Regions from separate parts of the Homo sapiens genome. Here region 2 is linked to region 1. Evidence: promoter capture Hi-C in 16 types of primary human blood cells and fetal thymus (Javierre and others, 2016). All regions are on one chromosome and are shown on one strand. The core of a region is centred on a gene start or on the middle of the fragment in contact, and the rest is flanking DNA. Distances in the headings are between cores, read along the strand shown. Region 1 holds the start of BTBD7 (BTB domain containing 7). Region 2 holds the start of GON7 (GON7 subunit of KEOPS complex).

Region 1 (6,278 bases), core at 998-3,497:
CGAAGGTTTACCTGAGACACACTATAAAAATGCTGTGACTCAAGATGATACCTGGAAACTAGGTAGTGTAACCTAGAAATCAACACAGGTGCTTTAAATCCTAAAATCAGAGTCTGATAGAAAAACCTTGTTTAAATGCTGGTGTTGGGACACAAAACAATACAGTAGTCAGGTTTTGTGGGACAGAATATTGACCTATGAGTTTTACTGAATTCATGCAAGAATGAGCCATGCTAAAACTGGGTGAAAATGTAGTCATGAGCCTAAGAAAACTCCAAACGAAATATCACTCCGTTTTTATTAAGTTCAGGTTAGGAAAAAAAAAAAATCTTCATCAGTTACTTGAAGTAGCTGTCAGAATGAGACAGAGGCTCTCATTTTCGCTTTCAACTTTATTACACCAAAACCCTATGGATAGGGGTAGGTAGTGAATGGTGAAGAATGCAATCAATGAAAAGTAAGCAGCTCAGCAGTGTAGTAACAATGAGCTCTCTAAATGGGGTAATGGGGTGTAGAGGCCTACATCTTAGTTTTGGTCTAATCCATCGCCAGCTGTAGGATCCACAACAAGTCACTCGCCTCTCTGGGTCTGGTTTCCCGGCTCTAAAACAATATTCACACCTTTAGATCTCTAAAAGTTTTTCTGACTCCAAAATTCCATGACAAGTCTAATAACAGTTGCTATTAACAACGTATGATTCTTGCAAAGCAATTTCAAGTCTTTCTTCCACATTTCAGGAAGAAAGCAATTCATTTCAGCAATCTAAAGGAAACAGATGCTATTAGGGACAAAAGATTGTTAGTTGACCAGACCGGGCGCGGTGGCTCACGCCTGCAATCCCAGTAGTTCGGAAGGACGAGGCGGGCGGATCACCAGAGGTCAGGAGCTCGAGACCAGTCTGGCCAACATGGTGAAACCACGTCTCTATTAAAAATACAAAAACTAGCCGGGCGTGGCAGCGGGCGCCTGTAATCCCAGCTACTTGGGAGGCTGAGACAGGAGAATCGCTTGAACCTGAGAGGCGGAGGTTGCAGTGAGTCGAGATCGCACCACTGTTCTCCAGCCTGGGTGACAGAGCGAGACTCCGTCTCCCCCCCCCCAAAAAGGTTGTTAGTTGAAAAAGCTAAGTAATTCTGTAAAAATGTCTACTTTCTCATTACAGTAAGATGTTTTCGCAGAGTTAACAGTGCTCTGGTGTAGATAACCAAGACTGCTTCTGTAAATTAGGCCTACTCCAGAGTACTTATTATCTGTGCTGGTATGTGAAGACGTGCAATTGTAGTTCACAGGAGAAACAACACTCCTCAGAGTTTCTTGAAAAACGGTGAGAAAGTTCTCACCCTCGGGGTAAAGCTAGCAAACACTGTGCAAATAAGGTACTGAAATATGCACACTTTTTGCCATTCAAGTAGTCCAACAAGCACAGCCTCCTCTTCTTTATCAAACACTCGGTATTGTCTCCCTCCCAACCTGTCAAAGCTCAATTCCAGGTTTATCCCGCAATAGTAACTTACCCGGACAATCTAACTTCCCCTGGGAGTAGCAGTCCTCAGGCCTGCTCCCTTCCCAGACCCCGCCGGCCACTCTCACGCCCACCCCTGGCGGTCGCAACCCCGCACCCGGGTAAACACGCGCCCCCGTCTCGGGAGCGGTTTCTCAGCGTCCTGGGAGCGACGGGTCCCGCCCCTCGGCGCCCGGAGCCCAAAGCCGGCCGGGCTGCCGTCGCGACTCCCTCGGGCCGCTCTCCCCGCCCCGAGCGCCACACCTCGCGCCCCTGCCCCAGGGACGGCGGCGCGCTCCAGCCCGCCCCTCGGAGCGCACAGAGACCGGCCAGTCCGGCGCCGCCGCGCCTCAGCCCCAGACGGACGACTGGCCCCTCCCCGCCCGGCGCCCCAGCGCCTCCCGCGGCGGCTTGGCCCCAGCCCCGGCGCCCCCACGCCTAAGAACAGCCCCTTCCTCTCCCGGACGCCCCGCGCCACACCGGACACAGCCTCGGCTCCACAGCCTCAGAGACACCAAGGGACACTCACCCCGGAGGCTCCTCCCGCCGCTGCTGCTGCCGCTGGGACCGCTGCCGTCGCCTCCGCCGCCGCCGCCACCAGCACCGCCGTCCGCACCGGCGCCAGCACCCCCGGCCATCCTCCTCCCACCGCCGCCGCCGCCGCCCTCTCCTCTCCTGTCAGTGGCTCAGGCTCCGGGACTGCTCCAGGTTCCCCTCGCCGCCATTTTGACTCCTAGACGGAGCAGGAGGGGCTCGGTTCGGCGTGGCCCTGGGGCGCCTGCGCGGCGCTGCGGAGCCGGCCGGAGCCCCCGCCCTCCCCTGCCGTCGTCCCGCTCAGGGTCACGTGGCCCGACGTCGCCGCGCGAGTCGGGCCGCGTGGGGGGGCGGTGCGTTCGCTGGATCCATGGGAGCGGAGTGCGCGCGCATTATTTTTGCTCGTCGGCTGGGAGCCGGGCGTCGGGTCGCTGGGAGTTTGCCTCTTGTGGCAGCATCCTGCTTAGTCCAGCGAATTGTGACACATTATTAAATGTATCAGAATATAAGAACTGTGTCACTACTACGTCACCAGATGGCCATTTCCACGAATTCATGTTTCCGTTCGGCGGCCGGCGTCCCTCGGGTGGTCGCATGCAATGAGTGCATCTTTCTCGAGAACAACTCTTCCGCGGAAAGTCATTGCTGACAGTCCTGGCATTCCGGTGGCTGCTTCTTGGCAGTGAGCACTTGTCTATCGTAAGCACTTGTCTGCATGGTACTTTTACAGGCACCACCTTGCTACTTGTGTAGTAGGTTAAAAAATAATCTTTAAGACACTGAAAAGTTTTCCTTAACAAGATACCCCTGTAAACAAAGGACAAAATTGATGAAAACACACAGTCGCCACGTGGGAGAGCCAAGTCGCTCTTCCCTAGATGCCCCTTGTTTGGGGGTTTGCAATAATTTCAGCGATGCAATAACAAAAATACTGTATTTATGGGGCACTGTCGTTTTCCAGAGAGATCCATGGTTTCATTTGAACGCCAAAGCCACCCTTTGTGGTAGTCAGGATAGGTGTTTTTATTGCTGTTTTACAACCAAGGAGACAGGCTCAGAAATACTAACAAGTAGGCAAGCCAAGATCAGAACCCAGGCATTCTGAACCCAGTGAGGAGGCACCGTTACACCTCCTTTTCCTCTGATAGACATTAGCAACTCTGGGAATTTATTTGAAAGTATTGTATTTGCATTTTCAATCTCTACCCATTGTTTAACAAGTTTTGTGTCACACAGTTTTTTGTTGTTGTTGTTCTGAAACCACCTCTAAGCTTCAAAGGATAAGAGCAATTTGGAATTTTGTGATGTGTTTTTAACCATCTCTTGACCCTCCATTATTTTATGCTTTTCATATTCAGTTGGAGACAATATCATTGTTGTTTTCCTCTGGACTTCCTTCAGATTTGTATTTTCCTCACCCTCATTCTTCATCACCTTACTTCCTTGAAAAGGATAGCTCTTTCCAATTTGTATTACTTCATTTTCTTTACCCATCTCACCCTTTTCACCCTCTTACCCAATCCTTGAAGGTTTGGAGATTGTAGCAGAGATTGTAGCAGTCCCTTGCCTGAAATTCCCCTCTAGCTGGTAAGGGTCACTTCAGTTGAACATACAGCCTCAGGGCGATAGACAAGAAATGCATGGAAAAGTGAGAAAATATAAAAGAAATAGGTCCATCTAATTGGAGCCAATGATTACCTCTGAGTGTCCACCTCTTGTTCCACACTTTTATACTTCCCCAAAGGCGTAAGTGAACCTTATCTAAATTCAAGCCATTTACTGTTATTTTCCATCATTTTACCTTTGTCTTAATTTGCTAAATACAGTTAACACTTGAACAACACGGGTTTGAACTGTGCGGATCGATCAATGCAACCTGGTACATGGGATTCTAAACACCGTATTGAGAGGGCCGACTTTTCTTATACTCACATTCCACAGGACGGACAGGCAGACTTGAGTATGCTTGGATTGGGGTATATGTGGTGGGTCCTGGAACCAATCCCACGTATATAGTATATGGGGGATGACTGTATTGCATTAACTGAAAGAGCTATGATTAGCAAACTAAAAAGCGGTGTGTAAACACTGCTTCTTTATAATTTATGGAAATGTTAAATAAGATCAGTCCCCACTGTTTACACTTATTACTAACCTTTATTACTTGACTTTGCTTCTATTTCCTAGCCACAATTTAAAAAACAAAATTAAAATGGTATCAACAACAATAGAATTCTAAGTAATTTCAGGATAACACTTTTTCTAACAGCCTTTGATGTGGAAATCTAAAACTTTTTGAAAAGCCAAGTAAGGTCTGCTGGTTGCACCTTGTCCTTTTGTCTATCTGCACAGCTGGAGACTTCTAGTAGACTGTTTGGATCTAGAAACCATTTGTAAGTGATCCATGATTTTTTTCTACCCTTTAATTCATTCACTGTTTCCTTATTATACCATTTAACTGTACTTTTGAGATCCTGAATTAGCTCAGTTTACACACTCATCAGAATTTAGATGTTTATTTTAGTTCAGTCCGATACACATTTAAAGTATCCAGTACCATGTGCCAAGCACGGTACTACATGCTGGGGGTAAAAAATAAATGGATCTTTGTACTTAAGGAGCTTAGAATCTAAATAAGAAGACAGAGTGAAAAACATTTTTTTAAGGCTAGTGTTAAGATGGTACTAAGTAGTGGTTAACAGCATGCATTCTAGAATCAGATAGATCTGGATGGCCATATGACACAAATAGGTCAACCAGAACCTTTTCTGGAAATTTTTGCCACACTCTCAGAGGAGATGTTTCTTCTTACTCTATTTCTCCGGGATTATGACTCGAAAGGACATGTAAATTGGCTTTGTTTGCCAATGAGGAGAAAGCCATGTGCGGTAGGAAAGGAGGAAGACCATAAACAAAGAAACAAAGTGAGAGAAAGGAAAACCATGACATCATTTGAATACCTGGGCCTACCTGGGCCTGAAACCAACCCATCCCTGGTCTTTTCATTTTTAGAAGCCATTAAGTTGCCCTAACACCTCTTTTTATCTTAAGTTAGTTGGAAATGGGTAAAAACAGTGAACTTCTGTGGCTTTCAACCAAAAGTCCTGAATTTATGTTTTGTTCCTTTCTCCACTCCCTCCATCAGTGAATGGCATCCCATCCACCTGGTCATCTATGTTGAAAATAAGAGTAATCAACATTTCATGGTATATTCCATGGTCTGTCACTCCAGTCTTTTCCTTCCTTTGTACCCCCCTTTTTTACCACACATAACCATCCACTGAAACCCATTCCCACACTCATCTTCCTGGAAATACAGGATGGAAGCTGGGTTTTTGAAATTAAGGAGAAAAGACAAATTTTATCTCCCCCTATTTCTCTGCATGTAACAATCCTGTTTTCATGCATTTTTCTGAATTTCCTGAAGTCTAAAAGGTGAAGAGGATTGAAAACCCCAGAACAGTGATAAGTACCTTGTAGATGCTTAATTAAGAAGTGCTTAATAATTATTCAATTTTCAATTTTTTTTTTTCTTGAGACAGAGTCTTGCTCTGTCACCCAGGCTGGAGTGCAATGACGCAATCTCAGCTCAGTGCAACCTCCGCCTCCTGGGTTCAAGTGATTCTCCTGCCTCAGCCTCCCGAGTAGCTGGGATTACAGGTGCGTGCCACCATGCCTGACTAATTTTTTGTATTTTTAGTAGAGACAGGGTTTCACCATGTTGGCCAGGCTGGTCTCAAACTCCTGACCTCGTGATCCGCCCACCTTGGCCTCCCAAAGTGCTAGGATTACAGGCGTGAGCCACTGCACATGGCCTTAATAATTATTAAATTAACAAATAATACAATTAATAAAGGTTTTAGAAAATAATATTGGAAAATATTCATTGCCTTGGGGAAGAAAAGACAAGCAAGTCACAGAAAACATTAATCATGAAGACAAGATTCATAGATTCAACTGTATTTAAAATATGAACTTAAGTGCATCAAAATGTACTGATATGGTTTGGATGTTTGTCCCCTCCAAATCTCATGTTGAAATGTAATCGCCAGTGTTGGAAGTGGGACCTGGTGGGAGGTGTTTGGATCATGAAGGCAGATCCCTCATGAATGGCTTCACACTATCCCCTTGTGATGGTGGTGGGAGGCAGACAGGTTCCTAGGTGGGAAGGGGTGGGTCCCTGGTGAAACCCCACCTTCAAACCAGAGATGGCCTAAAGCCTGGGGGCCAGGCTGCCAGTTC
Region 2 (6,142 bases), core at 206-2,705, 130 kb before region 1:
AAGAAAGAAAAAAAGGCTACGCACGGTGGCTCACGCCTGTAATCCCAGCACTTTGGGAGGCTGAGGCGGGCGGGTCACGAGGTCAGGAGTTCGAGACCAGCCTTACCAACATGGTGAAACCCCATCTCTACTAAAAATATAAAAATTAGTCGGGCGTGGTGGTGTGCACCTACAATCCCAGCTACTCAGGAGGCTGAAGCAGGACAATTGCTTGAACCTGGGAGGTGGAGGTTGCAGTGTGCCCAGATCGCACCATTGCACTCCAGCCTGGGCAACAGAGCAAGACTCCATCTGAAAAAAAAGTTGACCCTGGGAAAAAAAAAAAAATTGACCTGGCGTGGTGGCTCATGCCTGTAATCCCAGCACTTTGGGAAGCCAAGGTGGGTGAATCACCTGAGGTCAGGAGTTCGAGACCAGCCTGACCAACATGGTGAAACCCCATCTCCACTAAAAATACAAAATTAGCTGGGCGTGGTGGCACATGCCTGTAATTTCAGCTACTTGGGAGGCTGAGGCAGAAGAATTGCTTGAATCCGGGAGGGAGAGGTTGCAGTGAGCCAAGATTGTGCCACTGCACTCCGGCCTGGGCAACAAGAGTGAAACTCTGTCTCAAAAAAAAAAAAAAAAAGAAAAAAAAAGTTGATCTTCTCTCACCTTTTATCAGCTTAAAAAAAATCTAAAGGCTATTTATGTAACCCAGTTTGTCAATGGTTAGCTCTGTAATCTGAGGGCAAATACTTATCCTTAGATTTATCTCTGAAATAAATCACATAATTTGTAAAGTGACTTCCAACTCTAAAATTCCATGACTATTTGTATTTTACTAGGTACATGCTACTTGATTTCTTTGCATTGAAGCTATCTAAATCAGGAAGGATGCACAGCAAATAAAAATGCCTTAGTCCCACTGACGAGCAGAAAAGAAACACACACACATACATATTTTAGGAATATATATTTTTAAAAGGATTCAATAATCTTTTTAAAGCAAAATCAAAGTATGGCTACAGGAGGAGAGGAAATATCCAAATTGTAATCAATGCAGATTGTTTACTTAAGGCCTTATATTTGTACCTGTATAAATACCATATCACAGCACAAAAACATACCCCATCTGGCTCTCTTAAGGTACATGATAAATCAGACTAATGCACATTCATCAAAGTGGCATCATCTCAGGATATGTGCATATTTGACGTGGGTATGAATTCAGGGTTTCCTTGGGTCTCTTTCAAGGACTCTCCTTTCTCGTCGGTATTTCTATTTCCTTATTTTCCTTCTGTTTATGAAGAACTGTTATTTTTATATTTAATGCCCAATTTTCACTACTTGTTCATGTCAGTTCTCTGAAATGTTACTGCCTATGAACCGTGACATGTACTCTTTATAACAGAACCAGAAGTTAAAAGATGTAGACATCACACAAATCAATGATTATTTTAAAAATAGAAAACAATGATAAAAATTCAGTTGCCAACTTAGAGGATTTTATACATTATGAAGTGTTCTATTTTCCTTCCAGGGTCTGAAATTTATTTCTCAAGAAAACAGATTTTATTTCTAAGCCTTTACTATCTTTGCTAGAAACAGAAAAACCAGTTTTCTCTTTGACAAAATTGTCCCAGGAGAACAACACAAATGCTTTTTCCAAATTAGAGCATAAGTCTTCCTTAAATGTCCTAGTGTGACAATAAGGATACAACAGCCATCTTTTAAATGTCATGAAGGCTATTGTTAAGACGGTGTTTTTGGCCGTTTTGCAGATGGTCCATCGAAGTTAGTTCTGTTATCAATGTTATTTTCATCTTCTGCATCATCTTCATCATCACCTTTTAAAATAAATATTTGTTGTATGACAATACGTTCTATGGCTGAAAGAAATATATATAGCTAAAGTGGTTGATAATGAGACCATTTCACTTTAGGGATTAATAAAACCTGCACATTTTAGATTAAAATGATTTTGAGAATTTCAGTGTTTAAAATCTTTATTTTCTATCACTTTCCTCTTTGGAAATATTAGTTCATTCACCATAAAATCCACTCTTTTTTTCTTTTTTTTTGAGATAGTCTTGCTCTGTCGCCAGGCTGGAGTGCAGTGGCACGATCTCAGCTTACTGCAACCTCCGCCTCCGGGGTTCAAGCGATTCCTCTGTCTCAGCCTCCCAAGTAGCTGGGATTACAGGCACGCGCTACCACGCCCGGCTAATTTTTTGCATTTTAGTAGAGATGGGGTTTCACCATGTTGGCCAAGATGGTCTTGTTCTCCTGACCTCGTGATCCGCCCGCCTCGGCCTCCCAAAGTGCTGGGATTACAGGTATGAACCATTGTGGCTGGCCAAAATCCACTCTTTTAAAAAGTGTACGGCCTAGTGGTTTTTAGTATATTCACTAGCTTGTGCAACCATCACCTAGAACACTTTCATCACTCCAAAGAGAAATGATATGCCCATTAGCAGTCGCTTTCCATTCCCCTCAGCCTTCGGCAACCACTAATCTACTTTTTTTCCCCCTTATTAGAGATAGGGTCTTGCTATGTTGCCCAGCTAGACTCAAACTCCCAGGTTCAAGTGATCCTCCTGTCTCAGCCTCTAGAGTAGCTGGGACTACAGGTGCCCACCACTGCACCTGGCTCACTAATCTACTCTATCTCTATGGATTTGCCTATTCTGTACATTCATATAAACAAAATCATGCAACATGTACCCTTTTGTGTCTGGCTCTCACTTAGCATAATGTTTTCAAGGTTCATTCATGTTGTAGCACATGTTAATACTTCATTACTTTTTATTGCTAATAATAGTCCATTGTATGGATATACCACATTTTGTTAATGCACTCATCGGTTGATGGATATTTGCATTATTTCTATTTTTTAAAATTATCATTTTTAGAGATGAAGAGATGAGGCCTCACTCTGTCCTCCAGGCTGGAGTGCAGTGGAGCAATCAGCCCACTGCAGCTTCAAACTCTTGGGTTCACATGATCCTCCCACCTCCTAAAGGCGCAACACCAAGCCCAGCCAATTGTTGTTTCCACGTTTTAGCTACTATAAATGCTGCTGTTATCAACATTCATGCGTAAGTTTTTGTGTGAACATACGTTTCCAGTTTTCTTGGGAGGACTACCAGTGGAACTGCTGGGTCATATGGTAACTTCATGTCAACTTTTTGAGGAGCTACCAAACTCTTTTTCCCAGTGGTTACACTGTTTTACATTTCCACCAACAATGTACAAGGTCTCCAATTTCTTCACATTCCAGCCAACACTTGTTATTGTTCTTTTTGATTATAGCCAACATCCATATTATCAAGATGTATTTCCCAAGATGGAAGGAAAGTACAGTTTAAGCTCTTCTTACATAATTGTAAATCCTGACTCTAATATCTAGTTCTTGGGTTTTTCAGCTCAGGACGGTTAAAATGTACCTGCCTGGCCAGGTGTGGTGGCTCACGCCTGTAATCCCAGCACTCTGGGAGGCTGAGGCGGGTGGATCACGAGGTCAGGAGTTCGGGACCAGCCTGGCCAACACAGTGAAACCCTGTCTCTACTAAAAATACAAAATTAGCTGGGAGTGGGGGCGGGTGCCTGTAATCCCAGTTACTCCGGAGGCTGAGACAGGAGAATCGCTTGAACCGGGGAGGGAGAGGTTGCAGTGAGCCAAGGTTGTGCCACTGCACTCAAGCCTGAGTGACAGAGCTAGACTCCATCTCAAAAAAAAAAAAAAGTACCTGCCTATTTCTGCATTCGAGGCAATTTTTTAAAAATAATGCAGTTAAACTTCATGTTTCTACTTTCAAACTGCACCTACAAAACTGGAAAGGCAAGGGAGTCTCTGGGAGTTAATACGTGATAAAATGAAGTCTGTCCCAGTCTTTGGAACCTGTTCCTACTCTGCGATAGATTGTACTCTTCCAAGTATGTCTGTAGTTTCACACCTGATAAAACTCCTTTTTATTCAACACCCAGCTCAAAAGTCTTATCCTTTCTGAAGACTTCCTAGGGTGTCTGGGTTTGCAACAGTTACAGAGGACCACAGAACCACTTTCACTTTTTTTTTCTTTTTTTTTGAGACGGAGTCTCGCTCTGTCGCCCACGATAGAGTGCAGTGGCGCGATCTCGGCTCACTGCACCCTCTGCCTCCAGGGTTCAAGCGATTCTTCTGCCTCAGCCTCCCGAGTAGAGTAGCTGGGACTACAGGAGCATGCCACCACGCCCAGCTAATTTTTGTATTTTTAGTAGAGACAGGGTTTCACCATATTGGCCAGGCTTGTCTCGAACTCCTGACCTCGTGATCTGCCTGCCTCGGTCTCCCAAAGTGCAGGGATTACAGGCGTGAGCCACCAGCCCGGACCACTTCCACTTTTAATAAGAGTGTCTGCCTGTCTAGTCCCCTTGTGTTTCACAAGGGCAGGAACTGAGTCGCATTCACCTCATTCTTCCTCCAGGGCTCAGCTCAGGGTTTGGCACATAATAGTAGGCATTCGACACGTTTTTTTGTGAAATAAACGAAATAGCGATGAGTTGTGGAAACGCTTGAGTAGAAGCAGCCCAAATAAATATAGTGATAAATGCCAACAATTTTTATTTTTTAAATTATTTTAAAAATAATAATAGAAACGGGGTCTCGATATGTTGCCCTGGCTGTTCTGGAACTCCTGACCTCAAGTGATCCTCCTGCCTCGCCCTCCCAAAGTGCTGGGATTACAGGCGTGAGCCCCACTTCGCCTAGCCCGCCAAAAATTTTTAGATGCAATTCTTCTTTCCTCGAGGCTCACTTTGTCCAAGTCTGCCACTCTACACGGGCTCCCCAAGCCAATTTCCCCTGGGCGCCCGCCCCGTCCTCCGGTCACTGCAGCACCGTCTCAGAGCTCACCGTCCAAGTCCTCGTCTGGAGCCGCCGCCACCCGGTGCTGCACTTCCCCCTGTACCAGAGGGTCGAATAATTCCGTTACCATGTCCTTCATCTGGGCCACGCCAGACAACAGGCCCTGGAAAGGGTCGCCGTCACCCGGCGCCTCACAGGACACCCGCAGCTTCTGCGGCTTCCCTTCCTGCCCGACGTACTCTCCCAGCAGCTCCATGGTGACCGCTAAGCTTCCAGAACACGACACCGGGAAGCGCCACCCGGAGGCGGAAATCAGCCCGCGTCCGGCGCAGGCGGGAGAAGGGAGAGGAGTGACATCCGTTTGTCGGAAGTCGCTCCTCCCCCTTCCTTCGCTTTTTTTCCTTGTCATTGGTTCCTGGCACTCGGGCCCCACCTCCTCCGGCTACGCCCCTCACGGCCGCTTTTCCCGCCTCCGCCGGGGCCGAGCCGCTGTTCGGCTGACAGTTGAGGATGGCCGGAGCCGAGGGCGCCGCTGGGCGGCAGTCGGAGCTGGAGCCCGTGGTATCGTTGGTCGACGTCCTTGAGGAGGACGAGGAGCTGGAGAATGAGGCGTGCGCTGTCCTGGGCGGCAGCGACTCCGAGAAGTGCTCCTACTCTCAGGTGGGCGCGCGGCCCGGGCCTCCTCTCCCCCGGCTCCCGCCGAACCTCCCCTTCCCGGCCCGGCTGTCCCTATTCCCGCCTTGCCGCAGTCGTCTCCCCAGTGGTGGTCCGGGGCCGCCGTTAGTCTGCCGCTTCCTCACCCCAAGCTCACCCTTCCCTTTTAACCCCAACCTCCTGGGCCCCCTTCAGCCTGTGTCCAGCAGGGGCCCCCCTCTCCCCTGTCTCCAACTCTGTCCGGCCCGCCAGGAAGGGCCCTGGAGCAGCTGCTCTGTCCGTCCTCTCCAGCCTCTTCTTGGTGCACCACTGCTTTTCACGAAACCACCCCGCGACCTCTCAGATCCAGACATCTTTGTCCCTGATTTTCCCATCCTAAGATTATTTATTTATTTATTTATTAGGGACCGAATGGGAGAGTCAGGTTAAAGAGATTTTCAAATCCATAGGGATTTGCGGTGAGCTCCTTGACAGCTAGTTCCTCTGCAATTTAGTTGGACAAGTGCTAGCTAGTACTTTTTCTTTCTTTCTTTTTTTGGCAAAATGAAGCAAGTACCCATGTCTATCTGCAGTCTGCCCCCCTCCCCTGGAAATAGACCGGAAACAGAACAGCAAGTGGCTCTGGCAAGGGAGGGGAGAGAGGAGAAAAGGATCTGTTTG

What was found. The method cuts DNA at HindIII sites, captures the fragments that hold promoters and counts their contacts. A CHiCAGO score of 5 or more calls a contact.
Region 2: a fragment that was not itself captured here is called in contact with the fragment with the promoter of BTBD7 in region 1 in 1 of 17 cell types (fetal thymus); the score reaches 5.2 in fetal thymus.

Annotation. Positions count from the first base shown.
Region 1 is chr14:93,330,789-93,337,066 of GRCh38, forward strand. BTBD7 (BTB domain containing 7) reads right to left here and starts at 2,248. Exons shown (of 11, transcript NM_001002860.4): 1 at 2,032-2,248. It also overlaps a transcript of UNC79 not described here. The HindIII fragment of the contact is 5,146 bases long and covers 1-3,305 here.
Region 2 is chr14:93,201,954-93,208,095 of GRCh38, forward strand. GON7 (GON7 subunit of KEOPS complex) reads right to left here and starts at 5,112. Exons shown (of 2, transcript NM_032490.5): 1 at 4,877-5,112; 2 at 941-1,829. The coding sequence starts at 5,084. The coding sequence ends at 1,735. UBR7 (ubiquitin protein ligase E3 component n-recognin 7) reads left to right here and starts at 5,303. Exons shown (of 11, transcript NM_175748.4): 1 at 5,303-5,488. The coding sequence starts at 5,339. RefSeq lists an enhancer at 4,349-5,208. The HindIII fragment of the contact is 7,279 bases long and covers 1-5,095 here.